Regions from separate parts of the Homo sapiens genome. Here all the other regions are linked to region 1. The links are contacts of gene promoters, found by promoter capture Hi-C in blood cells and fetal thymus (Javierre and others, 2016). All regions are on one chromosome and are shown on one strand. Each heading gives the region's core, a stretch centred on a gene start or on the middle of the fragment in contact. The rest is flanking DNA. Distances are from core to core; before and after follow the strand shown. Region 1 holds the start of METTL1 (methyltransferase 1, tRNA methylguanosine). Region 2 overlaps SARNP (SAP domain containing ribonucleoprotein). Region 3 holds the start of LOC124902941 (a long non-coding RNA gene). Region 4 holds the start of RAB5B (RAB5B, member RAS oncogene family). Region 5 holds the start of PA2G4 (proliferation-associated 2G4). Region 6 overlaps RNF41 (ring finger protein 41). Region 7 holds the start of TIMELESS (timeless circadian regulator).

Region 1 (3,917 bases), core at 1,402-3,901:
GCCAGATGAAGGAAGTGGTGGTGTGAGTCCCTAAATGCACCCCCACTGAATTCTTAGTGAAGGGCCCCTGAGTAGGCCACTCACCCCATCATCCCTCCGATCCCAACTCACCCCAACTCTTAGCACGTAGGCATATTCTGCTAGCAGGGTGGGACTGATGATTCGCCACTTGTGCTTTGTCCGCTTGAAATGTGGGTCGGGGAAGAGGAAGAACATCTTTGTCAGCTGTGAGACAGACACACACCAACAGGGTTGTGAGAGCCTGGCCTCCATGCCCCCACCTGCCTACCAGCCTAACCCACCAGGGCCCCTCCCCACCTGGCCCTTGTAGAAGAAGTTAGGAAGGTGCTTCATGGCATTGCTACGGAGACAGGCGATGTTCTGGAAGCCACCTGCAGGAGCTGCGCGTAGGGCCCGAATCCGGTCTTGTACATAGTCTGAGACCTTCACCCGGATCTCCAGACCCAGAATAAGTGTGTCTGGGAACAGCGGTGACAGTTCCACTGCACACAGAAATAGCAATGGAATCATCAACCATATACTTGTAGGAAGTGCAAAGGGGTCAACACAGGAAAGGAAGCCTCAACCTGCAACTACCAAAGTCCAGAACGGCAAGAGAGGACAGAGATACATATATGGATAGTTTTATGCTCAAGAGGCGGGGGGAGAAATGAAAATTGTCACCAGGACCAGAATGGGAGGGCTGAGGATACATGTATATTTGCCATTGCTTTAGAGTTTTCCACAGTGTTTTCACACATTGTGTTATTTCATCCTTATAACACTCTGTGGTAAATTGTGAAGATAAGGAAACTGAGGGTCAGATATGCCGAAGATCATAGAGTTAAGAAGGGGCAGAACTGGAACTTATTTATTTGAGATGGAGTCTTGCTCTGTCACCCAGGCTGGAGTGCAGTGGCACAATCTTGGCTCACTGCAATCTCTGCCTCCCAGGTTCAAGTAATTCTCCTGCCTCAGCCTCCTGAGTAGCTGGTCTTGAACTCCTGGCCTCAAGTGGTCCACCTGCCTCAGCCTCCCAAAGTGTTGGGATTACAGGTGTGAGCCACTGTGCCCAGGCAGAACTGGACCTTAAACCAAGGTTTTCTGCCTCTATGTACCATGCTCTTCTTCTCTATCAGGCTGTTATCTGTTTGGGAAGATCTAAAAATAGGGAGTGGCTTGGCATGCATGGGTGGGACAATACAGACAATACAAGAGGAACCCAAAAAACAGGAGAGTGGGGCAGAAGGAATGAGATCTGGCGAGGGAGGGGCAAAGGGGAGGGGAGATGGTAGAATCTCTGAGAAAAGACAGTTCAGGATCACTGGCCACAACGGCTAATCTCTGATGCTTGTGCTGACCAGCTCACTGACCCGGAACCTGGCAGATGAAATGGCTCATGTAGGGATTGACGCCAGAAAGGACAACCCAGGTTTTAAGAAGCATTTGAGGCAGCCCCCTCCACTCTCCAGGGCAAAGGTCACAGACCCAGAGTAGAGGGTAGGTGGAGCCTCTCCATGCTGATGTCACCAGTGTCTGGACGAAAGGGGAAAGGCCAATTATGACCCCCCACAAAAGTTGCTGAGGCAGCAGAAGCTACTAGGCCTCTTCTCACCCCAAAAAGAGGGCCTGAGTGTTACCTAACAGGCCACCATAGCCACAGCCTATGTCTGCAAACTCCACTTGGGCCTGAGCTCTCTTTTCTTTCTTATCCTTTGGGTCATCGTGGCTCTGATTTTGAGTGAGTGGAGCGAAGAACTCTGGGTATAGCTCAGACCAGTCCATCTCCTCTGGCTTCACAGGGCTATTGGAAAGAAGACATAAGAAGCATGAGAAGGTTGGTCACACCATTGCAGAAGTGGTACTGTGAGAGTGTGTGGGTGGGTGAGGGTGGGAGGTAAAAGGGAGGAGGGTTTCTCAAAAATTCTGTAACACTGGGCCCTGTGGCCTCTAAGAGGGACAATGGAAACCACCCTTAACTCCCAGTGTGAATCATAGGACCATCATGAGGCCCATAAACGCTGACCTGCCCAACTCCACTTCTGGCGGTTGATGTGACCCTGGCCGGGTAACTGCCCTTTCTGGGGCACAAGTTCCCCTTCTCCCGAGACTGGCTGCCTAATGCACTGGGATCCTACTTTGTGTTTGTGCTCTGCGGGGAGGGAAGGTAAGGTAAGGTGCGGGCAGGATTGTGTATATGTTTGCCTTTTTATTAAATCCAACAAACAAAAGCAAAAGATGGAAACGACATTCTGCCTCTATCACTTCAGTCTCAGTAACAATTTATTTCTCTTCCCAAACTTAGCACCGCTACCCAGACTTAGGCCCGAACGCCACGCCCACTCTCAACCCGCCAACTCCTCTCTCGGTCGAATCTCCCGGTCCCACCCCCAAAAACTGACGTCACCCATCTGATCCTCCCGGGTCTACCCCAAATCCTCCCAGCAGTTGCAGCACAACTGCTCTCCCGGCTGCTTTGAGAATCCCGCCCTCCTCTCTCTCCCTCTGCCCACTCCTCACTAGCGCAGCGTGTGGTCCGCCATGGGGTTGGAGTGAGCACGTTGCCGGTAGTAGCGCTTCTGGGGCGGTGGGGCCTCTGCTCCGGCCACGTTCCGAGTCTCGGCTGCCATGATCCCAGTCCGGGGTTTCTCTACCAAATCCACGTGGAGGCGCAGGCCAGAGGCGCAAGTTAATGACGCAGCCATGCGCGTTGGTGGCAGTTCCCGCCCCTTAAAGACCCAAGAGCAAATTCAGCTGGGCTGGGCTGGGCTGGGCTGGGCTAGGTGGGGAGGGCTGTAAGGAGCGAGTGCTGGAGGGAACCTCCGCACCGTTAGCCTCCAACTGGGAGGGCGAGGCCAGGCCCAGGGACCCAACGTTTTCTCTTAGCTTGCTTCTGCCTGGTCTGGGTTACCATCCTGGTTGCAGGCACCTGTGCACCCCACAGGTGAGAGGGGTCTAGAGACCTCGCCTTCTACAGTGGCATCAGTCCTCGCTCCTGTCCCCTTACTCCTGGTCTCGGACCAGTCCGCCCGGTCTGACTCTTGTGGTCCCGTGTGGGTTTCGTCGAGTGTGCGCTCGGGGCCGGGGCGGGAGGGGCAGCTCCTCATTCCACCTCCAGGAAATCGAACTGGAGGAAGGAGGGCAAACTCAGGGAGGCGGGGCTCGTTCCACAGGGACACCACGACGGCTCGCGGCCCCCAGCCTCTACCCCGCTCCGGATCCGGGATCTGAGCGCCGGCCGCGGTGCCCAGGCACTCCCTTGGCGGGCCGGATGGCGGACCCCGGCCCAGATCCCGAATCTGAGTCGGAATCGGTGTTCCCGCGGGAGGTCGGGCTCTTTGCAGACTCTTACTCGGAGAAGAGCCAGTTCTGTTTCTGTGGGCATGTGCTGACCATCACGCAGAACTTTGGGTCCCGCCTCGGGGTGGCGGCGCGCGTGTGGGACGCGGTGAGGAATGGGCTGCGCCGGGTGAGGGTCCGTGGGAGGTCCAGATCCCGGACTCCGCCTCTCCCATATGGAGCCATCCTCACGACTGTCTTTTTCTCTGTCTTTTCTCCCGTAGGCCCTGAGCCTGTGCAATTATTTCGAGAGTCAAAATGTGGATTTCCGAGGCAAGAAGGTGATCGAACTGGGTGCGGGGACAGGCATCGTGGGGATCTTGGCAGCGCTGCAGGGTGCGTGAGCTGGCTTTTTACGGGAGAGAGTGGGGACCCAGGGGCGCGGAGAAATGGTCACTTCGTGGATCTTTGGGGGAGAGGGGAGAACTTTGGGCCCAGTCTAACCCCTTCTTTTTAACAAATTTTTTTTTAAAATTTGTTTTTGTTTTTATTTTGGCGTCTGCTTCTGCGTGCCAGACAGCGCGAATTGCCTGTCAAAGCACCTAGGGTGGGTGATTGGGGAGGGCAGGAAATAAAAC
Region 2 (3,917 bases), core at 394-2,893, 2.0 Mb before region 1:
TTTGTGGATAGAACATAGAAAGCTTCCTTGGGTAAATAATATTTGAGTGAAACACCTGAAAGGGGTGTAGTAATTAATTAGATAAACGTGTTAGGGAGGAAGGGCAGCCGGAGTACTACAGCCGAAAGAAAACTCCAATTGCAGCATATGTGAAGGTTCTAGGTTGAGGTAAGAGGGAGAAGCAGTGTGCAATGATTAGAACATGAATTTTGGACACAGGCTGCCTGGAATTTTTTTTTTTTTTTTTTTTTTGAGACGGAGTTTCACTTTTGTTGCCCAGGCTGGAGTGCAATGGTGCCATATCGGCTCACCGCAACCTCCACCTACGCGGTTCAAGTGATTCTCCTGCCTCAGCCCCCCGAGTAGCTGGGATTACAGGCATGTGCCATCACGCCCAGCTAATTTTGTATTTTTAATAGTGACGGGGTTTCTCCATGTTGGTCAGGCTGGTCTCGAACTCTCGACCTCAGGTGATCCGCCTGCCTCGGCCTCCCAAAGTACTGGGATTACAAGCGTGAGCCACTGCACCCAGCCTGCTTGGATTTAATATACAACATTTTAGCTGTGCAACCTAAGGCAAGTTACTCAGTTACTCTCTCTGAGCTATGGTTTTTCTTATTTTCAAATGAGGATAATACAGGTATTTACCTTACAGGGTTATTATGAGAATTAAATCAGTTAGTGTATGTAAATGGCTTCAAACAGTGCTTTGCCACATAACAAATGCTAAGTGTTGGCAATTGATGAAGCATTCTGAAGAAATTAAATAAAATAAGGCCACAGTAGTTGAAGAGTTAGTAACTATGCTGGAGAGACGGGCAGGGATATAATTTAAAGGTTTTAAGCAGGGGAATGACTCCTATAATAAATATCTAAGTGGTGAAATCGCTCCCCCTACAAATCCCATCCGCCAAGAGAATACAAGCTGATCACATCAAGCTCCTCCTTTCAAACTTCCAAAGGCTCCCAGCCCTACTTCTTACATGACAAAGGCCAGAAGTCCTTACATAACTTAGAAAGCCCTTTTCAATATCACTCTGATTTACCTTTATAGTTTACCTATTTTCCTTTCCAAACTATCTTCAACTACCAATATATTTCCTCACTTCACTTTTCAATACAAATGTCTCACTATTCTCAACACTCTGACACTACTATCACTTTCTCCTCTCCTCTGCAATAGTTCCTTTTCTAATGTTTGACTGGATATCTGATACTGTTACAGTTCAAGCCATTTTCATCCACAGTTCAATCTCTCTTTCCAAATGTGTTAGTATGGGCCAGGAGTGGTGGCTCATGCCTATAATCCCAGCACTTTGGGAGGCCAAGGCAAGAGGATCACCTGAGGTCAGTCAAGTCCAGCCGGACCAATAACATGGTGAAACCCCATCTCTACTAAAAATACAAAAATTAGCCAGGCATGGTGGCACGTGCCTGTAATCCCAGCTACTCGGGAAGCTGAGGCACGGGAATTGCTTGAACCTGGAAGGCGGAGGTTGCAGCGAGCCGAGATCTTGCCACTGCACTCCAACCTGGGCGACAGAGCGAGACTCCATCTCAATTTAAAAAAAAAAAAAAAAGAATGACTGCATTTCTACAAAATCCTCAGAAATTTGCTGTTGATATGACATTACATATCAACTCAGATACATACTATGTTTCCTTCCTGCTTCAAAAGGTATTCCCTTCCCCTGAGGTTCCATACCAAAGCCCAAAATTCTCTTTATGACAATGGAGAGATTTTTTTATTTTCTTTTTTTTGAGACAAGGTCTCCCTTTGTCACCCAGGCTGAAGTGCAGTGGAGCAATTATCACACAGCTGACCACAGCCTTGGCCTCCCAGGCTCAAGCAATCCTCCCACTTCAGCCTCCTGAGGAGCTGGGACTACAGGTGTGTGCCACCATGCCCAGCTAATTTTTTAATTTTTTTTGTAGAGACAGGGTCTCACTATGTTACCTAAGCTGGTCTCAAACTCCTGGCCTCCGCCTCCCAAAGAGTTGGGATTACAGGTGTGGGTCACTGCACCCAGCCAAGATTTTTTTTTAAGGCAATAAAACCCCAAGTCAACCCAGAAGTCAGGATCATTGCATCAAGATCACCAGTGGAACCAAACATTAATTGTCCTAAAAATCAGAATCAAAGGCATGAGTTCTTTTTTTCTTTTTGAGACGGAGTCTCACTGTCCCCCAGGCTGGAGTGCAGTACACCATCTCGGCTCACTGCAACCTCCAACCCGGGCTCAAGCGATTCTTGTGCCTCAGCCTCCTCACAGCCTCCTCAATAGCTGGGACTACAGGCACTTGCCACCACACCTGGCTAATTTTTGCATTTTTGGTAGAGGCGGGGTTTCGCCATGTTGCCCAGGCTGGTCTCGAACTCCTGGCCTCAAGCAATCCGCCCGCCTAGGCCTCCCAAAGTGCTAGGATTACAGACGTGAGCCACCACGCCCAGCTAAAGGCATGAGTTCTTAACCAGAGGTCCATGGACTCCTCGGGGCTACAAGGTAGTTTTATGAAGCCCCTCAAACTGCATGCAAAATATGTGTACATGCCTTTTTCTGGGGAGAGGGTCCATACCTTTCATCAGAGTTTCAAAGATATCTGTGACCTCCAAAAGGTTAAGAAGTGCTCTAGAGAAAAAGCAAAGACAAGCAAATGTGATTAAAGAGCAAGTCCTTTTTAGGCTGTCAGGAGTGCCTAATGTTCTCTTAGACTGTAACACTGAAATCAGGTCAGAGGACTTTACGTAAAAGTTACTTATCCAATCAAATACAAATTTTATATAGACCTGACAAATACAGATTTGATGGAAGGAGGAACTCCATAAACCAACACAATCTATAAATGCAAGTAAGTCATCGGGCAGCTGGTGACTTACTCCAGGGATTTCAAAAATAGGACAAATAGGAAGAAAATATTAGCTCTTCTATATATAGTTCCTTTTTATCTCATTCAAAAATTCCTTTTCTGTGTTATATTTTATAACAGTCCAGAAGTATACAATTTCTATAAGTACAGTATATATAAACAAAGTGGAGATGATTGCTCAATTTTTTTTAACTCATCACAATAAAGATCAAGAGACCGCTGATATAGTCTATGCATTTCAGTATCATCAAGTTAACAATAACTCCAGAATAACACAAAAACCCACTAACAGAGTTTAGAATCCAAGAGTAAGAAAAACATCAGTTTCACAGAAAGACTAATTGGGGTCAACTAATAAGTGACTAAAGAAGGGTCCTCTCCCTACCCTTACTACCCTTAAGCTTTCTTAACAGCAACAAAAACAAAAAAAAACTTTTCGAGCTTTAAAGGATCACTTTTCAGTTTCAGCTATATCAGCCTGGTTTGTCCAAAACATCTAATGGGAAAACTACTTGTGAAACCACAAACAGACAATTACTCAAGATATCTTAATTTACCCTAAAAGAAAATACTTTTTAAAATGTTCTTCTTTTTAATATATTTTTTTAACTTTTTTATATATCTAAGTGTGAAAAAACTACCAAGAGTCTCATAAGACAATTTAAAATAGCTTCTGTGATTCAGTGTCAGCCAATGGTAACACCAGGAGATGCAGGGCCCACCCGAGATATGAAATGGAACAGAGATAATCTTAACCTTGGAATTGTTTTTCCCAAATATTGCAGGTGTGAGTTCTCTCTGGTGGTTGGAGATGGTGTGTGAGGAAGGCTGGCGGGCCGAGAGCCGCGTGACAGAACTCGAAAACTTTTAAATCTGAGGTGTCTGTACTTCTACTATTCTCAAGACCTCCTCAACCCCAGGCTTCTAAGGCGAGACCGATCTTCTGAGAGGCCTCTCCCTGTTTCAAAATTCGGCTTGGGGCGTAATCCCACCTAGAAAAGGGGAGTGGAAGTATTTTCTGAGTGTCTGGTACCTATTTAGACAGAAAT
Region 3 (3,917 bases), core at 738-3,237, 1.8 Mb before region 1:
TAAAACACTCTGCCAGTATTTTAAAAGATGTTTACAGAGTTTTTAATAGCAAGGAAAAACATTTACCTCATAAGGCTAAATGAAAAGGCAAGATATAAAAATGTATATACCATCTGGTTCTGCTATGTTTAAAACAGTTTAGAAAGATATATGCCATATATAACAGCAGACTCTGGGTTGATGAATTAATATTGAACAAAAATTACATAACTAAATTTGCACTTAAGAAGCAGTAATCTGGTAGCAGTGTATCTGTAGAAATGAAACAAGAGAGGGACTGGAAATACGATGACCAGTTTAGGAGGTCACAGTAATATTTGCAGAACAACAGAAACTAGAATTTTAGCAGGCACTTGGAATGGCCCAAGTACTATGCCTGGTACTTGGCCATATATAGTAATTTCTTCTAACCCATACAATGACCCTTACATAATAGTAATAATTATAGAACAATGTGTTGGACACTTTTTATGTGCCAAACATGTAAATTACTTTATTTAAATTTTAATACGCATAATAATCCTGTGTTGCAGGAGTTATTCCAATTTCATTGATGAGAAAACTAAGACTTAGATTCCCAAGGCTATATAGCTAACAAGTACTGTAGATGGGATAAGGGTAACAGCAGTAGGAATAAAAGAATGATATTTTGATAACTGATATACATGAGGAGGGCAAGAGAGAAGTAAAAGATGATAATAAAAATAATCATAAAAAAATAAAACTCCCATAAATAAAAAAAAATACTCCCATAGAAATAAAAACACCTAGTGATCAGATCTTAGTTTTTAACATTACTCTTTAGTAAAAAGAACAAGGGCTTCTTGGAGAAATGGCAGACCGCAGGACTGGAGCAGAGAACAAAATCATACCTGCAATGATGGCAAATGTCAAAGGGAGATGGGCCAAGTAAAAAACTAAAAGAGTTCCCAATGTTCAAAACTGGAACATTTGAGCAATAAAGCAAATAAAATAGTATTGGATTATAACCTAACATATAAAATACACATCTATAAGTCCATATTGATATACATAAATTAATAAAGGAAAAGAAAAAAATCTCCTGGGCAGAAAAATGCCAAATAGTGTGTTTTTTTAATTGTTTTTTGAGACAGCCTCTCACTGAGGATGGAGTACAGTGGCACAATCACGGCTCAATGCAGCCTCAGCCTCCCTGGCTCAATCTTCCCCTCTGAGGCTCCCTGAGTAGCTGGGACCACAGGTGTGTGCCACCTTACCCAGCTCGTTTTTTTTTTAAATCTTTTTGTAGATAAGAGGTCTTGCTATGTTGCTTAGGATGGCCTCAAGCAATCCTCCAGCCTCAGCCTCCCAAAGTGCTGGGATTACAGGCATATGCCACCATGCCCAGCCCTTAATCTCTTTTTTTAAGGAGAGCACAACTCTCTACTCCTTATGCGTGGGCTGGCAATAGTGACTTCCCTACAGTATGGAAAGGAAGGGGGTAAAGCCTAACTTTACAGTGAAGCCTTACAAACAATATCTCTGCCAGATGATCACGGTCAATACTAACAGGCTGGGCATAGTGACTCATGCCTAGTAATCCCAGAATTTTGGTAGGCCAAAGGGGAACAATACCTTGAGCTCAGGAGTTCAAGACCAGCCCAGGCAACATAGTGAGACCATCTTTACCAAAAAAAAAAAAAAAAAAAAAATTAGCTGGTCATGATAGCACACGCCTGTGGTCCTAGATACTCAGGAGGCTGAGGTGGGAGGATCAATTGAGACTGGGAGGTCAAGATTTCAGTGAGCCATGATGGCATCACCGCACTCCAGTCTGGGCAACAGAGGGAAGACCCTGTCTCAAAAAAACAAAAATATTAACAGTAAAAAATCATTGTGATACTATGTACCCTGATACAATGTGATGAAAATGTCACTTTACCTCTGTGGTCTTCCTCCCCAAAACACATAACCCAAATCTAATCATGAGAAATACATCAGACAAATTCCAATAGAAGGATATCCTACAAAATACCTGACCAGTACTCCTCAAAACTCAAGGTCATGGAAAACAAGGAAAGCCTGAGAAAATGTCACAGCCAAGAGGAGCTTAAAGAGACATGAGAACTAAATGTTATGTAGTACCCTGGATAAGATCCTGGAACAACAAAAAAAAATTAGGTAAAAAGGCTGGGCGCAGTGGCTCACACCTGTAATCCCAGCACTTTGGGAGGCCGAGGTGGGCAGATCACCCGAGGTCAGGAGTTTGAGACCAACCTGACCAACATGGAGAAACCCATCTCTACTAAAAATACAAAATTAGCCGGGCATGGTGGCACATGCCTGTAATCCCAGCTACCCAGGAGGCTGAGGCAGGAGAATCACTTGAACCCGGGAGGCAGAGGTTGCGGTGAGCTGAGATCTCACCATTGCACTCCAGCCTGGGCAACAAGAGCAGAACTCCGTCTCAAAAAAATAGTAATAAATAAATAAATATAAAAATAAATTAAGTAAAAACTAAGGAAATCAGCCAGGCATGGTGGTTCACACCTGTAATTCTAGCACTTTGGGAGGCCAGGGCGTGAGGATTGCTTGAGCCCAGGAATTTGAGATCAGACTGGGCAACAGAGCAAGACCGCATTTCTACAAAAAATACAAAAATTAGCCAGGCGTGGTGGTGTGTACCTGTAGTCCCAGCTACTCAGTAGGTTGAGATGTGAGGATCACTTGAGCCCAGAAGTTAAGACTACAGTAAATGGTGATTGCACCACTGCACTCCAGCCTGGGTGACAGAGCAAGACCCTGTCTGAAAAAAAAAAAAAACAAAACTAATGAAATGATGTATGGATTCTAGTTAATAGTAATATATCAATATTGCTTCATTAATTGCAAGCAAAGTACTATATTAACGTAAGATGACAGTAATGGGGAAACTGAGTGTAGGGTATATGGGAAATCTCTGTAGCATCTTCTCAATTTTTCTATAAATCTAAAAGTGTTCTAAAAAATCAAGTATATTTAGAATATTAAAAAAAGAAATGGCTAGGCGTGGTGACTCATGCCTGTAATCCCAGCACTTTGGGAGGCCAAGGCTGGCAGATCACGAGGTCAGGAGTTCGAGGCCAACCTGACCAATATGATGAAACCCTGTCTCTACTAACAATACAAAAATTAGCCAAGCGTGGTGACATGTGCCTGTAATCCCAGCTACTCAGGAGGCTGAGGCAGAAGAATCACTTGAACCAGGGAGGCGGAGGTTGCAGTGAGCCGAGATCGCGCTACTGCACTCCAGCCTGGGCGACAGAGTGAGACTCTGTCTCAAAGAAAAAAAAAAAAAGAAACGATACAAAAGTTTACCTTGGGTTGGCTAGAATAATGGTGCCTTTAACAGAAATAGTGATGGAAAAACTGATACTGGTTTTGGTCAGGTTGGATTTGAGGTATAACAGTATATCCAAGAGTGAAGATATTCACGAAACAATTAGAAAAAGGCATAGGCAACTCGAGAGAGGGTAGTGCTAGAAATAATGACTGCAAAGAGTTAAGAACAAATAGGCAGCAAGGAAACAGAAATATCAGGAGATTTCTTCATATTCGAGAAATCTGGGGCCAGGTGCATGCTCACACCTGTAATCCCAACATTTTGGCAGACTGAGGTGGGAAGATCACTTAAGGCCAGGAGTTCAAAACCAGCCTGGGCAACATAGCAAGTCTGCATCGCTTCATTTTTAAAAAAAGAAAGAAACAAACAAAATCTGGCTGTGAAGAAAAAGGAAACAAAAATGATAGGCCTTGAGTTTTCAGTGAAATAAAAATGAAGTCTTCTGCCAAAAGAAGGAGAATTAAAAGGGATGGTCACACAGATCTGGAAAAGGTTGGGGAAACAGCTATGGAAGAACATAAAAAATAAATTTAAATATTTATTTATTATTTATTTTTGAGACAGAGTCTCGCTC
Region 4 (3,917 bases), core at 621-3,120, 1.8 Mb before region 1:
TCGACACTGCATTTCCCAGTAAGCCCGCCGTTTTTCCTTTCTGTTTCATATCACAGACAGAAAAGTTTTCCAAAGATTCTTTTATTTACATTTACATACGATTCTGAAAAAGCGTCTCCAAGCTACCACTTCTTGTAGTTGCCATTGTCTCATTCCACCAAAAAACATCTCAGACCGCCCGCGGCCACCCCAAATACGCCTGTCCACTGAAGCCTCACTAAAAGGAGGAAGCGCTGATGTCAGGGTTACTTAAATTCCCAGGCTCCGGATCCCTAGAAGAGGTATTTCCCTTTACGCCCGCGAATTTGTCATAGAAGGCAGGGCACTAGAGCCAGCCCCAGCCAAGTCCAGGGGGAGGGGCGAAGGTCAGTAGCGGCCTTCCTAAGGCTTCCTTCAACCCCTCCTTGCCTGCCAGTCAAGTACCGTATTTTCGCAGTACTGGTTAAAGTTTCACTTTGACCCGCCTCCATCACTCACCTGATTAGATGTTTATGAGTCAAAAGGCGGGGTCATGGGGTGTCGAGATTTTATTGGTGGATACATACGCCTGTCGGCAGTGTACCGCCCCCTGTCTTCAGGAGCTTGCTCTTTAATGGCTCCTTACCTCGTCCATCTTCGAGGTTTCTCCCTCGCTATTGGCTTGTGGCCCCGCCTGTCGCGTCCCTTGCTCGTACTTGTTGGTGACAGCGCCCAAAGAGACTCGCCTTTCTCCAGAGGATTGGTGGATGAGTGCACATATAGCCCACCCTCGAAGGTAGGCGGGTAATCGAGCTATTGGCTGGAGCCCCGCCCCAGGGCGAGGAGGAGAAGGAGGGGCAGGAGGGTTTGGTTGAGCTGCAGCTGTTTGTCTGTTCGACACAGGCTTGGGGCCGACGGGGGAGACGGAGCCCCAGGTACCGAGCTGATGGAGCCCAAAGGGCAGGGGCGGAAGCGCCCGGGAGATGAGAGCAGCCTGGCCTGAGAGCGGAGGCGGGTCTGGTCCTAAGCGAGGGGTTAGAGTGGCCCACCGGAGAGGGGAGAAGGGGGCCGGGCCCCGGCAGGCCTAATGGGGGTCGCTGAGGAGGGGACTGGGCGGCCTGGGACCCCGAAGTTGGTGAGTCGGGAAGGCGGCTGGGCTGTGGCGGCGGCCAGGCCGAGGGCCGGGGGCTGGAGGCCTGGAGCTTGAGTGAGGGCAGGGGCAGGCCTCATTAAGCAGCGCTGAAGAGGGAGGAGCTGGGGAAAGGAACAGGGCAGCGGGTGAGGTAAGCCCATTTGCCGGGAGGTGAGGAGGGTCAGACCTGTCGCCCGAGCCCCGGGGGTGACTGGGGCTGGGTCCCTGCAGAGAGGTTCATTGGAAGGGCCTGAGAAGGGTTCTTAGTTGGGTAAGAAGCGTTCTTTTCAGGGAAAGTGCCTATTGTAAAAAGAACTGAGGGTGCTATGGTGTTGAGCTGAGAGAGATTTGGGTTCAGTGAGGGAGAACTGGGGAAAATGAAGAAGGCTGTATTAATCTAGAAGACTAAGGTAGTTGAAGTAATGGAAGCAGGGCCTGGTATCAGTTATGGGAACTTCTGGGAATGCTGAAGGGTGGGCTGGGGGCTCTGGGTCTTGGGAGTACACACTCTTTTGTTCCCTTTAGTGTTTAGATGTGGTAATTTGAAGCTTTTTAAAACTCCCAGGGTAGGGATGAAGATCAAAGTAATTTTTTTTTTTCCATGACTGTTGGCTGCTCCAAACTCAGCCCCTACACTTTCTGTTGGCCTCATAGCTGGTCTATACTGCAGTCTGTTTCTTAACTTACTGTTTCATGTCCTATGAAAGAGCTAAGAAGTTGGATTGGGGGCATGTTTTGTCCACTTCTTTCCCACTTAATAATGTGGTCTATAGCAAATACCATGTCTCCTAGAACTGAGAATCTATTTCATATCTATTTCATTATCTACATGGGAAAGGGGCTTAGAGATCCTCAGCCATCAGGAGATCTTCTGATCATAGTTGGTGAAACTTTTGTGGGACTTAGACTTGACTTGGGTATTTCCCAGGCAGGTAATGGAGTTAACAGGTCCGAAACTATGCGGTGATATCACTGAGGAAGAGATTTGGGGAAGAGTGAGAAATTCCATTTCAAAAGCTTGGCATCACCCCTTGTTCTTTGTCTACTTCAAAAGCCCAGATTTCTGTGCTGTTAGAAAGTTGGGTCAAACTATGAAGTATCTGGGGAAGATGGTGAGTAGAGAAAAAGATACAGAGGTGCAGTAGCCCACGCCTGTAATCCCAGCACTTTGGGAGGCTGAGACAGGAGGATCACTTGAGCCCGGGAGTTCGAGGGTGCAGTGAGCCATGATCTTCCCACTGCACTCCAGCCTGGGCAACAGAATGAGACCCTGTCTCCAAAAAAAAAAAAGACAAAGATTGCCAAAGCAGAGGAGTGGAGTACCCTCCTCCCCACATATTTTTAATGGTCTGCTAGCCTTCTTAGTCCCTCATAGATTGGAGCCTATTGGATTTTCCCTTACTGTACTTCCTCCTTTTCTGCGTCTCTACCAATATATTTTATCACTACATTTCTTTTTTTTTTTTTTTTTTTTTTGAGACGGAGTCTCACTGCAACCTCCACCTCCCAGGTTCAAGAGATTCTCCTGCCTCAGCCTCCCAAGTAGCTGGGACTACAGGCGTGCGCCACCACGCCCAGCTAATTTTTGTATTTTTAGTAGAGACAGGGTTTTACCATGTTGGCCAGGATGGTCTCAATCTCTTGACCTCATGATCCGCCCACCTCGGCCTCCCAAAGTGCTGGGATTACAGGCGTGAGCCACCACACCCGGCCATCACTACATTTCTTAATTACAAAAGTTAATATGTACATATTTTAAAATATGGAAGGTGTACAGCAGTTTAAGAAGTATAAATCCTCCCACACATACCTTATTCATATTTCATTTAGGAAGGTCAAGGATCAGAGACAGCAAATCAGACTAATCTTGCTTTGCTTTGGGGGATGTGTCACAAAAGGCAATTGTGTTTTCATGTTCTCATCAAACTCTAGTCTTATTCTTTCTACAGTTTTCCCTTCTGGGATGATACTCTGTTATTTATTGTGTTCCTTTCACAGTTCATTTTGTCTTCTACCAAGTCCGACAAGCAGAGGGCTGTACTGTGTGTTATTCACCTTGAGTACACACAAACACACACACCCCAAGTTGTGTGCTGGGTGTCCTAGGAAGTGCCCAAAGAGATGGAACAAAACTTTATGGGGAGAAAGGATCATTTTGGTTGGGATAATTGTTGGCATCTCTGCTAAAGAAAGGAATTTCAGACCCTTATCTCAAATTCATGGTCTCTGGATGTTCATGGTCTCTGCATGTTCACATTACTTGACTATCCCTTTCTTATCCATGATGATGATGGTTCTCCTAAGAGGCCCCTGTATTTGTCTTTCTTTTCTTTTCTTCTATTTTTAGAGACAGGGTCTTGCTTTGTCACTTAGGCTGGAGTACAGTGTGTGTCTTTCTGTAGGGATCTGAGAAGCTCCAAGCTTATCTGGATTTGAAATCGGTTTTCCTCTAAATCTCAGAGTCAGAGTACAGCTGGGGCATTTCATACTACCACCTTATTAATTGAATTTGTCCTTACTAGCTTTAAAAGCCCTCTGTTGTACCCAGCCTTTGTACAGCGCCCATTGGAAACCTCGGTTTTTTCCCCCAAGGAACTTTTCTCACCTGCAAGCCAGTCCTAGAGACAGTTGTGTAGGAGTATGTGTGTGTGTTTTTAGACGGAGTTTCACTTTTGTCACCCAGGCTGGAGTGCAGTGGCATGATCTCGGCTCACTGCAACGTCTGCCTCCTAGGTTCACGCGATTCTCCTGCCTCAGCCTCCAGAGTAGCTGGGATTACAGGCGTGCACCACCACGACCAGCTAATTTTTGTATTATTAGTAGAGAC
Region 5 (3,917 bases), core at 869-3,368, 1.7 Mb before region 1:
GGAAAGGGAGGAAACCTAGCAGAGGAAAGTGTAATTTTGGTTTATGACTCTTAACCCCCTAGAAAGACAGAAGCTTAAAATCTGTGAAGAAAGAGGTTAGGAGTAGATATTGATTACTATCATAATTCAGCACTTAACTATGAGCCAGGCATCATACTAAACTTCACCTACATTATCTCACTTAGTCCTTTATCATCCTTAAAACAATTCTGTGACATACATATTATCTCATTTTACACAAAGGGAAGTCGGGCATGGTGGCTCATGCCTGTAATCTCAGCACTTTGGGAGGCTGAGGCAGAAGGATTACCTGAGGCAAGGAGTTTGAGACCAGCTTAGCCAACATAGTAAGACCCCCATCTCTTTAAAAAAAAAAAAAAAAAAAAAAAAAAAACTTTAGAACTGGGTGCAGTGGCTCATGCCTGTAATCCCAGCCAGCACTTTGGGAGGCTGAGATGGGAAGATCACTTGAGCCCAGAATTAGAGATAAGCCTATGGAAACATAGCAAGACACTGTCTCTACAGGGGAAAAAAAAAAAAGAAACTGAGCCTTAAAGAGATGAAATAAATTAAGCAGTAGATCCAGGATGCAAAATCCTCCCAATTCCTGTGCATGTGCTCTTATTGTAAGGTGCCAAGAAAAACTGATTTAAGTTACAGCCCTTGTTTAAGGGGCACTGTTTCTTGTTTTTGCACTGAATCAAGTCTAACCCCAACAGCCACATCCTCCTATACCTAGACATCTCATCTCAGGAAGTGGTGGTGGGGGTAGTCAGAAGGAAAAATAACTGGACATCTTTGTGTAAACCATAATCCACATGTGCCGTAAATGATCTTCACTCCTTATCCGAGGGCAAATTCACAAGGATCCCCAAGATCCACTTTTAGAAGCCATTCTCATCCAGCAGTGAGAAGCTTCCAGGTAGGACAGAAAAAAGATCCAGCTTCAGCTGCACACCTCTGTCCCCTTGGATGGGGAACTAAGGGAAAACGTCTGTTGTATCACTGAAGTTTTTTGTTTTGTTTTTATACGTGTCTGAATAAAAATGCCAAAGTTTTTTTTCAGCTTCCTGTCTGTCAAATGAAGACATTTCGTATGTTAGATAAGAGATCTGCTCCTCAGCAGTGGATACTCACCTTTCTGTGTTCTGACAGTGCTACTCTGTCCCATGCAGCTTTCTCTAGTCCTACTATTACTTCTATTTCTTTAGAACAACCATAGCGCATAGTCCTTTTCATTAAGGGTTTTAGTAGGAATCTACAAGGCAACCAATTGGGAATAACAAAAAGAACCTACGTGCTTTAGGACTTATAAAAAGCCCTATAAGCCCTCCTTCAGAGGCCAAACACTGAAACCTCCAGATGCTTCTGAATTCATTATCTTAGAAAAGTCATCAAATCTTTTTATTTTTTCACGGTAAGAACTCTCAACAAACATGTCTTTCTGAACACTTCCCTTAGGTGCTCCATCCAGGTGCCTGTTATTGGAACAATAAAGTCATGTTACTTCATTAGGAGTCCGGCCTCTAGATTGCGAGGCCTTTAAATGGATGATCCCTCCGGTGTCTGGCTGCCCAGTTAGCCCCCGTTACCAGCACCCTTGGTCTTCTTCCACCTGTCTGCCCCTCCCTGTTCTCCCAGCTTCGGAGGACGACTGGACCGGCTGGGCGGGTTTCGCCAGCCGACCCAGGGATCCGAAGAAGGGCGCACCCAGCCTCCCCGACCTAGGTGTAGACACTGCCCACCCGCTGCGGCTCCACTCTACTCCACCCCTGCCCGCTCGACTTTAAACCTATTTCCCCGCCGTAGCTCCGCCCCTCTCCCCTCAGCCCGCCCCTCTCTGTTACTGGCTCTCGCTCAGCGTTCTCGGTGGAAGTGGTTTTTCCGGGAGAGACCACGCTTCCCCTCAAGCTCCCCAACGGCTCCGCCTTCCCGCCGGAGCCTGACCCTTCCCAGAGTGCCCGGCGATTCCGGCGTGCGAGGCCCTTGGAGGGCAAGGCCCCAGGGCCTGGCTTAGGAGCGCGAGAGGCAGGCTGGGAATTGTAGTTCGAAGGCCCTCGAGAGCGGCTAGAGTCTGGCGGCCGAGAGGACTAGTTGTCCCAGCGTGCCCTGCGCCTCAGCCCGCGCGCTCGCAGCTTCTCGCTCTCGCCTGCCTGCCCGCTCCCTTGCTTGCTCGCGCTTTCGCTCGCCCTCTCCTCGAGGATCGAGGGGACTCTGACCACAGCCTGTGGCTGGGAAGGGAGACAGAGGCGGCGGCGGCTCAGGGGAAACGAGGCTGCAGTGGTGGTAGTAGGAAGATGTCGGGCGAGGACGAGCAACAGGAGCAAACTATCGCTGAGGACCTGGTCGTGACCAAGTATAAGATGGGGGGCGACATCGCCAACAGTGAGTGCGGCCTCGGGGGTCGGGGAATCAAGGCTGATAGGGAAAGGTAACAGGCTGGCCCGGAAGGGGCTGGAGCGGAGGGGTCATGCGGACTGAGCTACTGAGGGGCCCGCACCGGTCCGCTGGGCACGGCGTGGTGGGAAGACCCGGTGTCGCGCCTGGGACCTGAGCGGGCAGGCCCAGGCTGAAGTCTATGGAGGTGCGGGTCGGCGACCAGGATGAGCGCAGAGAGGGGACCCTGGCAGGCTCCGACCCGAGGCCGTTTGTTAGGAGGCAAGACGTGTTTTCTCTTGTTCCTATCCTTCATTCCCGATTATTGCTTCCTCTGATTCTGGCAGCGGCGAGGCCACCTCGAAAAGGAAGCGCCCAGCTATTGGCGACAGAAGTGCCCCTCTGTTTTTGTAGCGTCTCCGGGGCGTCAGGAGCCAAGCCGGCACGTGTTGCTGGGTCCCATTGCGGATGGCTGGCCCCCTTCTTACTCCGCTAGTGTCCCTGACACCAGCTTCCCCACCACCAGCTTCCCCACCACGTGCTTTGCTGGAGCCTTTCCTTCTTTACTTCAGCTCTTACCCTGGTGGGGGCCCCCTTCTACCTTGGGCCAGCTAAGGAGACCGTTGGAGAGCACTCCTGGAGCTTCTAATGCAAGTCTTGGAGATATATATGGCTTTTCTTGAAGTTACTCATTACTACCACCTTTCCAATCTGTGCAGATAGTCTTAGTTAGCATTCACATTTGTTGTTCTCAGTGACTTGACAACTCAAATGTTTTGGGGTCTCCGTCTTATCCCAACTAGGCAAGCTTGTGAACATTACTGGAAAAGGGAGGACTGATTTTAGGATTTTCACAAGTCATCCTTACTCCAGGTGTGCTCTGACGATCTCAGCAGTTGCCTGTCACTCTAGGCAGATGCCACTTTCTCTTTTCTCTCTTTCCAGTTAGCCTTTCCATTTTATTCCAGTTAGGGAGATACAAACTGCTTGTCATTGTGCTTTTAAATGGTTTTAACAGCAAAGATGGTGGGGAACAGGTATTTAGGATGCCTCCCGTCCTGTGGGTGAAAATCTGAGTTTTACCAGCTTTCAAAGAATCACCAAAACTGAGATACCAAAAGTCAAACCTGTGCTTTATATCACAGTGGACATTTAGTATCGTACCCTGGTTTTTGGTGCCTTTTAGTATTTGAGATACTAGTGGTTTGAATCAGAAAATCTCTTACAGTTTATAACTTTGGCCTCATATTTCTTTTAGATAAGCCATGATCCCCCGAAATGAAACCCAGGGACCTTAGATTAAGTTTCCTTGGCTTATGCACTTGTTTATGAGGAAATAAGTCTATATAGATTGAGATTCCTAACACCTAATTAGAGTGTCTGAGAAAGGAATGCGGTAACATTTAACAGTGCATCGGCTTCGAGTCAGCAATTCTGTCTACCTTCTTGTCCCTGATGCCTATAAATTTCATCTAGTCTTTGCGTGTATGTGGGGATACCATGGCAAGAACCCTCTGAAGTTCATAACTCTGTCCTGTCAC
Region 6 (3,917 bases), core at 383-2,882, 1.6 Mb before region 1:
TCAGGAGATCAAGACCGTCCTGGCTAACACGGTGAAACCCCGTCTCTACTAAAAATACAAAAAATTAGCTGGGCGAGGTGGCAGGCGCCTGTAGTCCCAGCTACTCGGGAGGCTGAGGCAGGAGAATGGCGTGAACCTAGGAGCTGCAGCTTGCAGTGAGCCGAGACCGCGCCACCGCACTCCAGCCTGGGCGACACAGCAAGACTCCGTCTTAAAAAAAAAAAAAAAAAAGACAAGAGGAAAAGTAGAGGAGTTGTTGGAGATTTAAGATTCTTTTATTCAGTGCACATAACTACCAGTAATAATGATTCCAAATCTGTGACTACAAAATGCATAGATCCAGGTTGCGATGGCTCACGCCTGTGATCCCAGCACTTTGGGAGGCCGAGGCGGGTGGATCACCTGAGGTCAGGAGTCGGAGATGAGCCTGGCCAACATGGCGAAACCCCATCTCTACTAAAAATATAAAAATTAGCCGGGTATGGTGGCAGATGCCTGTAATCCCAGCTACTCAGGAGGCTGAGGCAGGGAGAATTGCTTGAACCCAGGAGGCGGAGGTTGCAGTGAGCCAAGATCGCGCCACTGCACTCCAGCCTAGGCGACAGAGCAAGACTCTGACTCAAAAAAAAAGCAAAATGCATAGATCCATAATACATTATGTGTACAGGATGATGCTTTAATGCAGAGGTCCCCAAATCCCCAGATGGACCAGTACCAGACTGTGGCCTATCAGGAACCGGGTCGTACAGCAGGAGGTGAGCAGGAAACAAGCGAGCATTAAGGCCTGTGCTCCATGTCCTGTCAGATCAGCAGCGGCATTTGATTCTCATTGGAGCATGAACCCTATTGTGAACTGCCCATGCGAGGGATCTAGGTTGCCCACTCCCTATGAGAATCTAATGCCTGATGATCTGAGGTGGTAGAGTTCCATCACAAAACCATCCCCTCGCCCACCATCTGTGGAAAAACTATCTTCCACAAAAAGGCTGGGGATGCTGCTTTAATGTTTCCAAAGTGCTTTCACATAAATTATTATTATTATTTCGAGATAGAGTCTCGCTCTGTCACCTAGGCTAGAGTGCAATGGCGCGATCTTGGCTCACTGAAGCCTTGGCCTCCCGAGTTCAAGTGATTCTCCTACCTCAGCCTCCAGAGTAGCTAGGATTACAGGCACCCACCACCATGCCCGGCTAATTTTTGTATTTTTAGTAGAGACGGGGTTTCACCATGTTGGCCAGGCTGGTCTCGAACTCCTGACCTCAGGTGATCCACCCGCCTCAGCCTCCCAAAATGCTGGGATTACAAGTGTGAGCCACCGCGCCTGGCCCACATAAATTATTATTATTTTTTTGAGATAGGGTCTTGCTCTATTGCCCAGGCTGGAGTACAGTGGCATGATCATAGCTCACTACAGCCTCGCCTTCCCAGCAGGCTCCAGCAATCCTCCCACCTCAGTCTCCCAAATAGCTGGGACCACAGGCACACACCACCATGCCTGGCTAATTTTTGTATTTTTGGTAGAGATGGGGTTTTGCCATGTTGCCCAGGCTGGTCTTGAACTCCTGGGCAGGCTCCAGCAATCCTCCCACCTCAGCCTCCCGAAGTGCTGGGATTACAGGCACCAGCCACTGCGCCCACCCCCAAATCTACACATTTAAACAAGTCAAGTAACCCTGCTGTAGTTTTTCTGTTGCTTCAACTGTCAAGTAGGGAAAATGATACCTGCCTTATATATTAATATAAGGTATATATAATATATACATATTTATTATATATATATATGTTATTTTTTTTTTGAGACAAAGTGTTGCTCTGTCGCCAGGCTGGAGTACAGTGGCACGATCTTGGCTCACTGCAACCTCTGCCTCCCGGGTTCAAGCGATTCTCCTGCCTCATCCTCCCAAGTAGCTGGGACTACAGGCATGTGCCACCATGCTGAGCTAATTTTTGTATTTTTAGTAGAGACGGGGTTTCACCATGTTGGCCAGGATGGTCTCAATCTCCTGACCTTGTGATCCGCCCGCCTCGGCCTCCCAAAGTGCTGGGATTATAGGCGTGAGCCACCATGCTTGGCCTATTTTTCTTTTTTTTTTTGAGATGGAGTCTTCCTCTGTCGCTCAGGATGGAGTGCAGTGATGCAATCTCCTCAGCTCACTCCAACCTCCACTTCCCAGGTTCAAACAATTCTCCTGCCTCAGCCTCCTGAGTAGCTGGGATCACAGGCATGTGTCACCATGCCAGGCTAATTTTTATTTTATTTATTTATTTATTTATTTTTTTTTTGAGACGGAGTCTGGCTCTGTCACCCAGGCTGGAGTGCAGTGATGCGATCTCGGCTCACTACAAGTTCCGCCTCCCAGGTTCACACCATTCTCCTGCCCCAGCCTCCCAAGTAGCTGGGACTACAGGCGCCCGCCAGGACGCCCAGCTAATTTTTTTTTTTTATTTTTAGTAGAGACAGGGTTTCACCACGTTAGCCAGGATGATCTTGATCTCCTGACCTCGTGATCTGCCTGCCTCGGCCTCCCAAAGTGCTGGGATTACAGGCGTGAGCCACCGCGCCCAGCCAATTTTTATATTTTAGTAGAGACAGGGTTTCAACATGTTGGCCAGGCTGGTCTCAAACTGGCCTCATATGATCCACCACCTTTGGCCTCCCAAAGTGCTGGGATTACAGGCGTGAGCCACTGCGCCCGGCGTAATATAAGGTGTATATATGTGTGTGTGTGTATATATGTGTATATACACGCGCGCACCCCTTATACATACTGTCTGCAAATCAAATGAAATAATAAATACGAAAGGAGGCTGGACGCAGTGGCTCACACCCGTAATCCCAGCACTTTGGGAGGCCGAAGTGAGTGGATCACCTGAGTCCAAGAGTTTGAGACCAGCCTGGGCAACATAGTGAAACCTTGTCTCTACAAAAAATACAAAAATTAGCCGGGCATGATGGCGTGAGTGCCTGTAGTCCCGGCTACTGAGGAGGCTGAAGGGGGAAGGTCAACTGAGCCGAGGAGGCAGAGGTTGCAGTGAGCAGAGATCGCAGCACCGCACTCCGGCCTGGGTGACAGAGTGAGACCCTGTCTCAAAAATAAATAAATAAATAAATAAATAAATAAATAAATAAATATGAAAGGATACTGAATACTGTTATCCTCAAGTAAGATTATTTGTAGCAACAGAATACAAAATAAGGCTGGGTGCAGTGGCTCATGCCTGTAATCCTAGCACTTTGGGAAGCCGAGATGGACCAATCACCTGAGGTCAGGGTTTTGTTTTGTTTTTTTTGGCGGGGGGTGTGGGGAGACAGAGTCTCACTCTGTTGCCCAGGTTGGAGTTCAGTGGTGGAATCTCAGCTCACTGCAACCTCTGCCTCCTGGGTTCAAGCAATTCTCCTGCCTCAGCTTCCCAAGTAGCTGGGACTACAGGTGCATGCAGCCATGCCCCGGCTAATTTTTTATATTTTTAGTAGAGACGGGGTTTCACTGTGTTGCCCAGGCTGGTCTCGAACTTTTGAGCTCAGGCAATCCGCCCGCCTCGTCCTCCCAAAGTGCTAGGATTACAGGCGTGAGCCACCGCGCCCGGCTACAGTCAGAGGTTTGAGACCAGCCTGGCCAACATGGTGAAACCCCATCTCAACTAAAAATACAAAAAATTAGCCAGGCATGGTGGCAGGTACCTGTAATCCCAGCTATTCAAGAGGCTGAGGCAGGAGAATCGCTTGAACCCAGAAAGAGGTGGCACTGAGCCGAGATTGTGCCACTGCACTCCAGCGTGGGTGACAGAGTGAGACTCCGTTTCAAAAAAAAAAAAAAACAAGAATGCAAAATAAATTTAGAGTACTGAGAGTCGGAGAGGAAATGCTTGACAAAAGCTTGTTCCTTCTTTTTACTAGAAGGCAGGGCTAGCCACAG
Region 7 (3,917 bases), core at 429-2,928, 1.3 Mb before region 1:
CCAGGTGACAAACCCGAACAAGGCAACGAAGGGAGGGAGTGAGAAATCCGTTCCATAAAACCCACGATATAAGTAAAGCGGCCTGTGAATTCCGACCACTGCTGACCGCCAGGCCACACACCGGTTTTTTTCAGGAGGTCTCAACTAGATGCTAAGCTCCGAAGTGGAACTCCCTCAGGCACTTTCTGTTCTAATTCAGGAATTCCAAGCCCCTTTCCATCACAACCCCATCCCGCGGGAGACCCAAGCTGTGCGGAGCAGCGTAGGGCTAAGCCCGCGTCCGGTGAGACCCGGGAACGCGGCGCGGGAGACTAAGGAGCAGAGTACAGAATTGCGCGTGCGCGCCTGCAGCACGAGCCCCGCCCCCTGGCTCTAAACCGGGTGGCGGGAAAAGGGACTCAGCGTTTCCCGAGAATGCCCCCATAGCTTCGAAAGGATCCCCGTGTCCGCTTAGCGCCCTCTCGCCACACACTCACTCACCCGCTCCCTGCGGGTCCTCAGAAGCCCGGAGGAGCCACCGGCCCTCTGGCGCGGGGCCGCAGCCTTTCCGCCACCAGGCTCAGCTGGACCGGTCCCCGCCTGCGCGAAGAGCGAGGCGGGGCGAGCCGGGCTGGTCCACGTGACTCCGAGCGAACTGGGGCGGAGATTGGTGAAGAAGGAAGGAAAAGGGAAGCGAGTGCAGGGACTGTTTTATGTGAGGTCGATCTAAAAATCACAGCGCTATGAATTTTCTGCTGAATTATAGTAGAATCAAAGTCCGATTAGAGGTGAATTTACAAACATTCTTCCCCTTCTTCTAGTCAAGCGGACTATTCCAAGTCTTAAATAGTTAGTTAGAAAAGTTAGGTTTTATTTGGGAGGAAGTAAAGAGCTGAAGTACAGGGAGGAATGGTCTTCTGGGATAGGGGATGTCCGTTGTATTATAGGTATAAATTTAAAGCTTTCAAAGTATGCAAGAGGCTCATAAAAGGAAGAAAGCAACCGTAAATATTCATTGAACAGTTGAGGGTCTCTTCTGGCCTCTGCTGAGATGATCTTGCCAAAAGGAAAAGAAAATAGGGCTGTGCTCTGGCCCCCTGTAATCCCAGCTACTGGGGAGGCTGAAGCAGGAAGATCGCTTGAGCCCAGGATTTCTAGACTGTAGTGTGCGATGATCGTGCCTGTGAATATCCATTGCACTCCAACCTGGTCAACATAGTAAGACCCCCTCTCAAAAAAAAAAAGAAGATAGGGCTCAAACAAATAATAATCTCCTGAATTATTAAGCATTTGAATAGAAGGAATCAATTTCTGGGGTATGAGGGAGTTAGAAGAGATTTGCTTCAAGATGAAAGGACGGATGACAGAGAAATGAAAATACACAGACACAAAACAAGAAAAAAAACACGGAACTAGTGATAAAAGCAGAAAGATGCCATTTGAGGAGTGTTTTGATTTGCTCTAAATAAATTAGAACAGAGTCAAAGCCTCTCCCCTCATGCCCCCTACTACCACCCGTTCATTTATTTGCTCCAGGAATCAGATTTCCTGTGTTGGCCTTAGGGAACAATTGTGGGGCTTAAATACCATCTGCCAGGCAGCCACAACAGTGGATGTCAGGCTGACCAGTTAAGCTGCTTAATTTTTCTAGATTCTAGGCTTGCCCAAGCTCTATTTAGGTTGGAAGCTCTTTGGCCCAGGACCTCTGAAGAGATCCATTATGTCAGAATGAACACAACCAGCCAGCGGATGTAGACAGGTTTACGTGGCTTTACAGAACAGCTAAATCCTAGTGTTCACTTTTCTCAGAGCTACTTCCCCACCCAAGTCCCTGGGGCAAGCATCCCTAAGATAAGTAGGCTATATATTCCCATTAACTTCCCCCCAATTCTTCGGTACACCTACATCCTGATCTGGGGCTAATACTCCGTTTTCACCACCCACCTCCCTTGAGTCCCTTCTCCTAACCCTTGGAAGCCTTGTCTCCTCCACTTCTCTCCATCTGCCTCGTGTGAGGAGTAACTCCCTGCTTCTCTGTTCCCTCAGAAATCAAGAGCCACACACTTGACTGGCAGCAGGGTAAAGGCCAGAAACTTAAGGTGTCGGTTACCCAGTACTCACCATACTGGGTCGAGGAAGGGAGGTATAGGATGGCACCTCTTTTTGCTTCCTTAGCTCTCATGCCCCAAAACTCAGACACAGCCACACTCACATTCATATGCACAATCAGCACACACGGCGAAGGGTGGTGGGATGGGGAGGAAGGGAAGTTTGCACCAACCAGCTCATGAATGCAACTTGAAAGATTTCACACAGCAAAAGGAAAAAAAAAAAAAAAACAACCACATACATAAGTTAAAAAATAAAGAAGTACATGACCCTCCCCACAGTCTCTTTCTTCATCTAGGGGCTGGCTAAACCCCTCCACGTAAACTCAGAAGCTTTCTACTCCCTCTATTCAGCTGGAGCTTCTACAGGGCCTGGGTGTTCAGTTCAACAGGTTCCCCTGTGACCTCTGGTTGTCCATTGGAGACATCGGGTTTGGCACCCTTGAGGACAGACAGTCTCTCAGAAATACTCTTGAGCCGGGGGAAGAGAAGAAAGTCGTACAGGAGGCTGCCCAGACCCCCTCCAATGATTGGGCCTACCCAGTACACCTGTAGAAAGAGAAAAGGAATACTCAGGCTTGGGGAGGGGACAGAGTAGCAACGCTGCTCTTTTTCCAGCCACCTTAGTGGAAAACAAGATATTGTACACTTGATATCTACAATAAACTCACCATTTATTTTCTGATTCATCAAATTACTCCTTTATCCCACACCTTAGCATGTGTATATTCTATTTGTTATCAATTTGCACTAGTTTGTATGTTGCTTTCAAAAAAATTTTATACATTGTGGTAAAACACATATAAAATTTACCATATTAAATATTTTTGGACAGGCGCAGTGGCTTATGCCTGTAATCCCAGCACTTTGGGAGGCTGAGACGGGCGGATCACAAGACGGGCGGATCACAAGGTCAGCCATTTGAGAACAGCCTGACCAACAGGGAGAAACCCCATCTCTACTAAAAATACAAAAAGTAGCTGGGCGTGGTGGCAGGCGCCTGAAATCCCAGCTACTCAGGAGGCTGAGGCAGGAGAATTGCTTGAACCCAGGAGGCGGAGGTTGCAGTGAGCTGAGATCCTGAGATCAAGCTCCACTGCACTCCAGCCTGGGTGACAGAGGGAGACTCCATCTCAAAAAAATATATATATGTTTTTAAGTGTACAGTTTAGTAGTGTTAAGTATATTCACATTGTTGTGCAACCTATGTCTAGAACTTTTTCATCTTGCAAAGCTGTAACTCTATACCCATTAAACAACTGCCTATTCCACCCCACCCCCATCAGCCCCTGGTAACTATCCTTCTACTTTGCGTCTGTGAATTTGAGTACTCTAAATACCCCATATAAATGTAATCATACAGTATTTGTCTTTTTGTGACTGGCTTATTCACTTAGCATAATGTCCTCAAGATTCATCCATGTTGTGGTATGTGTCACAATTTCCTTCCTTTTTACAGGTAATATTCCATTTATGTATATACCACATTTTGTTTATCCATTCATCCACTGAGGAACACTTGGGTTGCTTTTACCTCTTGGCTATTGTGAATAATGCTGTTATGAAAATGGGTGTACAGCTTTGAAAAATTTTTAAATTATTTCCATATGTTTGGCTTGCACAACATCAACATAACCAATATTTATTGAGTGCTTACTTTATATCAGATTCTGTGCTAAATGTTTCTCACATATAACTTTCACACATTTCTCGTAATGTCCCATTTTATAGTAAAACAAACTGAAGCACAGAGTGATTATTTGCCCATGGTCACACACAAAGCCGATAACGTATTAGAACTGGAATGGGGCTGAGGCCCATCTGTGCTCA

The links. Contacts are between HindIII fragments. The CHiCAGO score rates a contact against its expected background, and 5 or more counts as called.
Region 2: a contact is called between a fragment that was not itself captured here and the fragment with the promoter of METTL1 in region 1, in 1 of 17 cell types (monocytes). The highest score is 7.8, in monocytes.
Region 3: a contact is called between a fragment that was not itself captured here and the fragment with the promoter of METTL1 in region 1, in 1 of 17 cell types (monocytes). The highest score is 8.3, in monocytes.
Region 4: a contact is called between a fragment that was not itself captured here and the fragment with the promoter of METTL1 in region 1, in 1 of 17 cell types (monocytes). The highest score is 6.6, in monocytes.
Region 5: a contact is called between the fragment with the promoter of PA2G4 here and the fragment with the promoter of METTL1 in region 1, in 1 of 17 cell types (monocytes). The highest score is 5.5, in monocytes.
Region 6: a fragment that was not itself captured here is called in contact with the fragment with the promoter of METTL1 in region 1 in 1 of 17 cell types (monocytes); the score reaches 7.8 in monocytes.
Region 7: a fragment that was not itself captured here is called in contact with the fragment with the promoter of METTL1 in region 1 in 1 of 17 cell types (monocytes); the score reaches 5.1 in monocytes.

The regions. Positions count from the first base shown.
Region 1 is chr12:57,769,454-57,773,370 of GRCh38, forward strand. METTL1 (methyltransferase 1, tRNA methylguanosine) reads right to left here and starts at 2,652. Exons shown (of 6, transcript NM_005371.6): 1 at 2,521-2,652; 2 at 1,641-1,804; 3 at 319-503; 4 at 112-225. The coding sequence starts at 2,630. EEF1AKMT3 (EEF1A lysine methyltransferase 3) reads left to right here and starts at 3,161. Exons shown (of 3, transcript NM_015433.3): 1 at 3,161-3,448; 2 at 3,564-3,675. The coding sequence starts at 3,272. RefSeq lists enhancers at 1,511-2,710, 2,396-2,685, 2,816-3,325. The HindIII fragment of the contact is 5,954 bases long and covers 1-3,917 here.
Region 2 is chr12:55,813,310-55,817,226 of GRCh38, forward strand. All of the region lies in intron 1 of SARNP (SAP domain containing ribonucleoprotein), which reads right to left. Among named protein-coding and RNA genes, the nearest start is that of SARNP, 2.5 kb to the right of the region's middle. The HindIII fragment of the contact is 3,247 bases long and covers 21-3,267 here.
Region 3 is chr12:55,920,795-55,924,711 of GRCh38, forward strand. The region is part of intron 1 of PYM1 (PYM1 exon junction complex associated factor); the gene reads right to left. It overlaps LOC124902941 (a long non-coding RNA gene), which reads right to left and starts at 2,977. Exons shown (of 2, transcript XR_007063325.1): 1 at 2,647-2,977. The HindIII fragment of the contact is 7,726 bases long and covers 1-3,917 here.
Region 4 is chr12:55,973,247-55,977,163 of GRCh38, forward strand. It overlaps RAB5B (RAB5B, member RAS oncogene family), which reads left to right and starts at 832. Exons shown (of 6, transcript NM_002868.4): 1 at 832-893. RefSeq lists an enhancer at 576-725. The HindIII fragment of the contact is 469 bases long and covers 1,637-2,105 here.
Region 5 is chr12:56,102,441-56,106,357 of GRCh38, forward strand. It overlaps PA2G4 (proliferation-associated 2G4), which reads left to right and starts at 2,119. Exons shown (of 13, transcript NM_006191.3): 1 at 2,119-2,385. The coding sequence starts at 2,298. It overlaps ERBB3 (erb-b2 receptor tyrosine kinase 3), which reads left to right. Exons shown (of 28, transcript NM_001982.4): 28 at 1-1,065. LOC105369782 (a long non-coding RNA gene) reads right to left here and starts at 1,979. Exons shown (of 2, transcript XR_944995.4): 1 at 1,848-1,979; 2 at 1,374-1,478. RefSeq lists enhancers at 1,814-2,163, 2,174-2,393. The HindIII fragment of the contact is 2,269 bases long and covers 914-3,182 here.
Region 6 is chr12:56,216,927-56,220,843 of GRCh38, forward strand. All of the region lies in intron 1 of RNF41 (ring finger protein 41), which reads right to left. Among named protein-coding and RNA genes, the nearest start is that of RNF41, 3.0 kb to the right of the region's middle. The HindIII fragment of the contact is 4,486 bases long and covers 1-3,875 here.
Region 7 is chr12:56,448,830-56,452,746 of GRCh38, forward strand. TIMELESS (timeless circadian regulator) reads right to left here and starts at 597. Exons shown (of 29, transcript NM_003920.5): 1 at 481-597. It overlaps MIP (major intrinsic protein of lens fiber), which reads right to left. Exons shown (of 4, transcript NM_012064.4): 4 at 673-2,636. The coding sequence ends at 2,451. RefSeq lists enhancers at 21-140, 251-340. The HindIII fragment of the contact is 1,480 bases long and covers 939-2,418 here.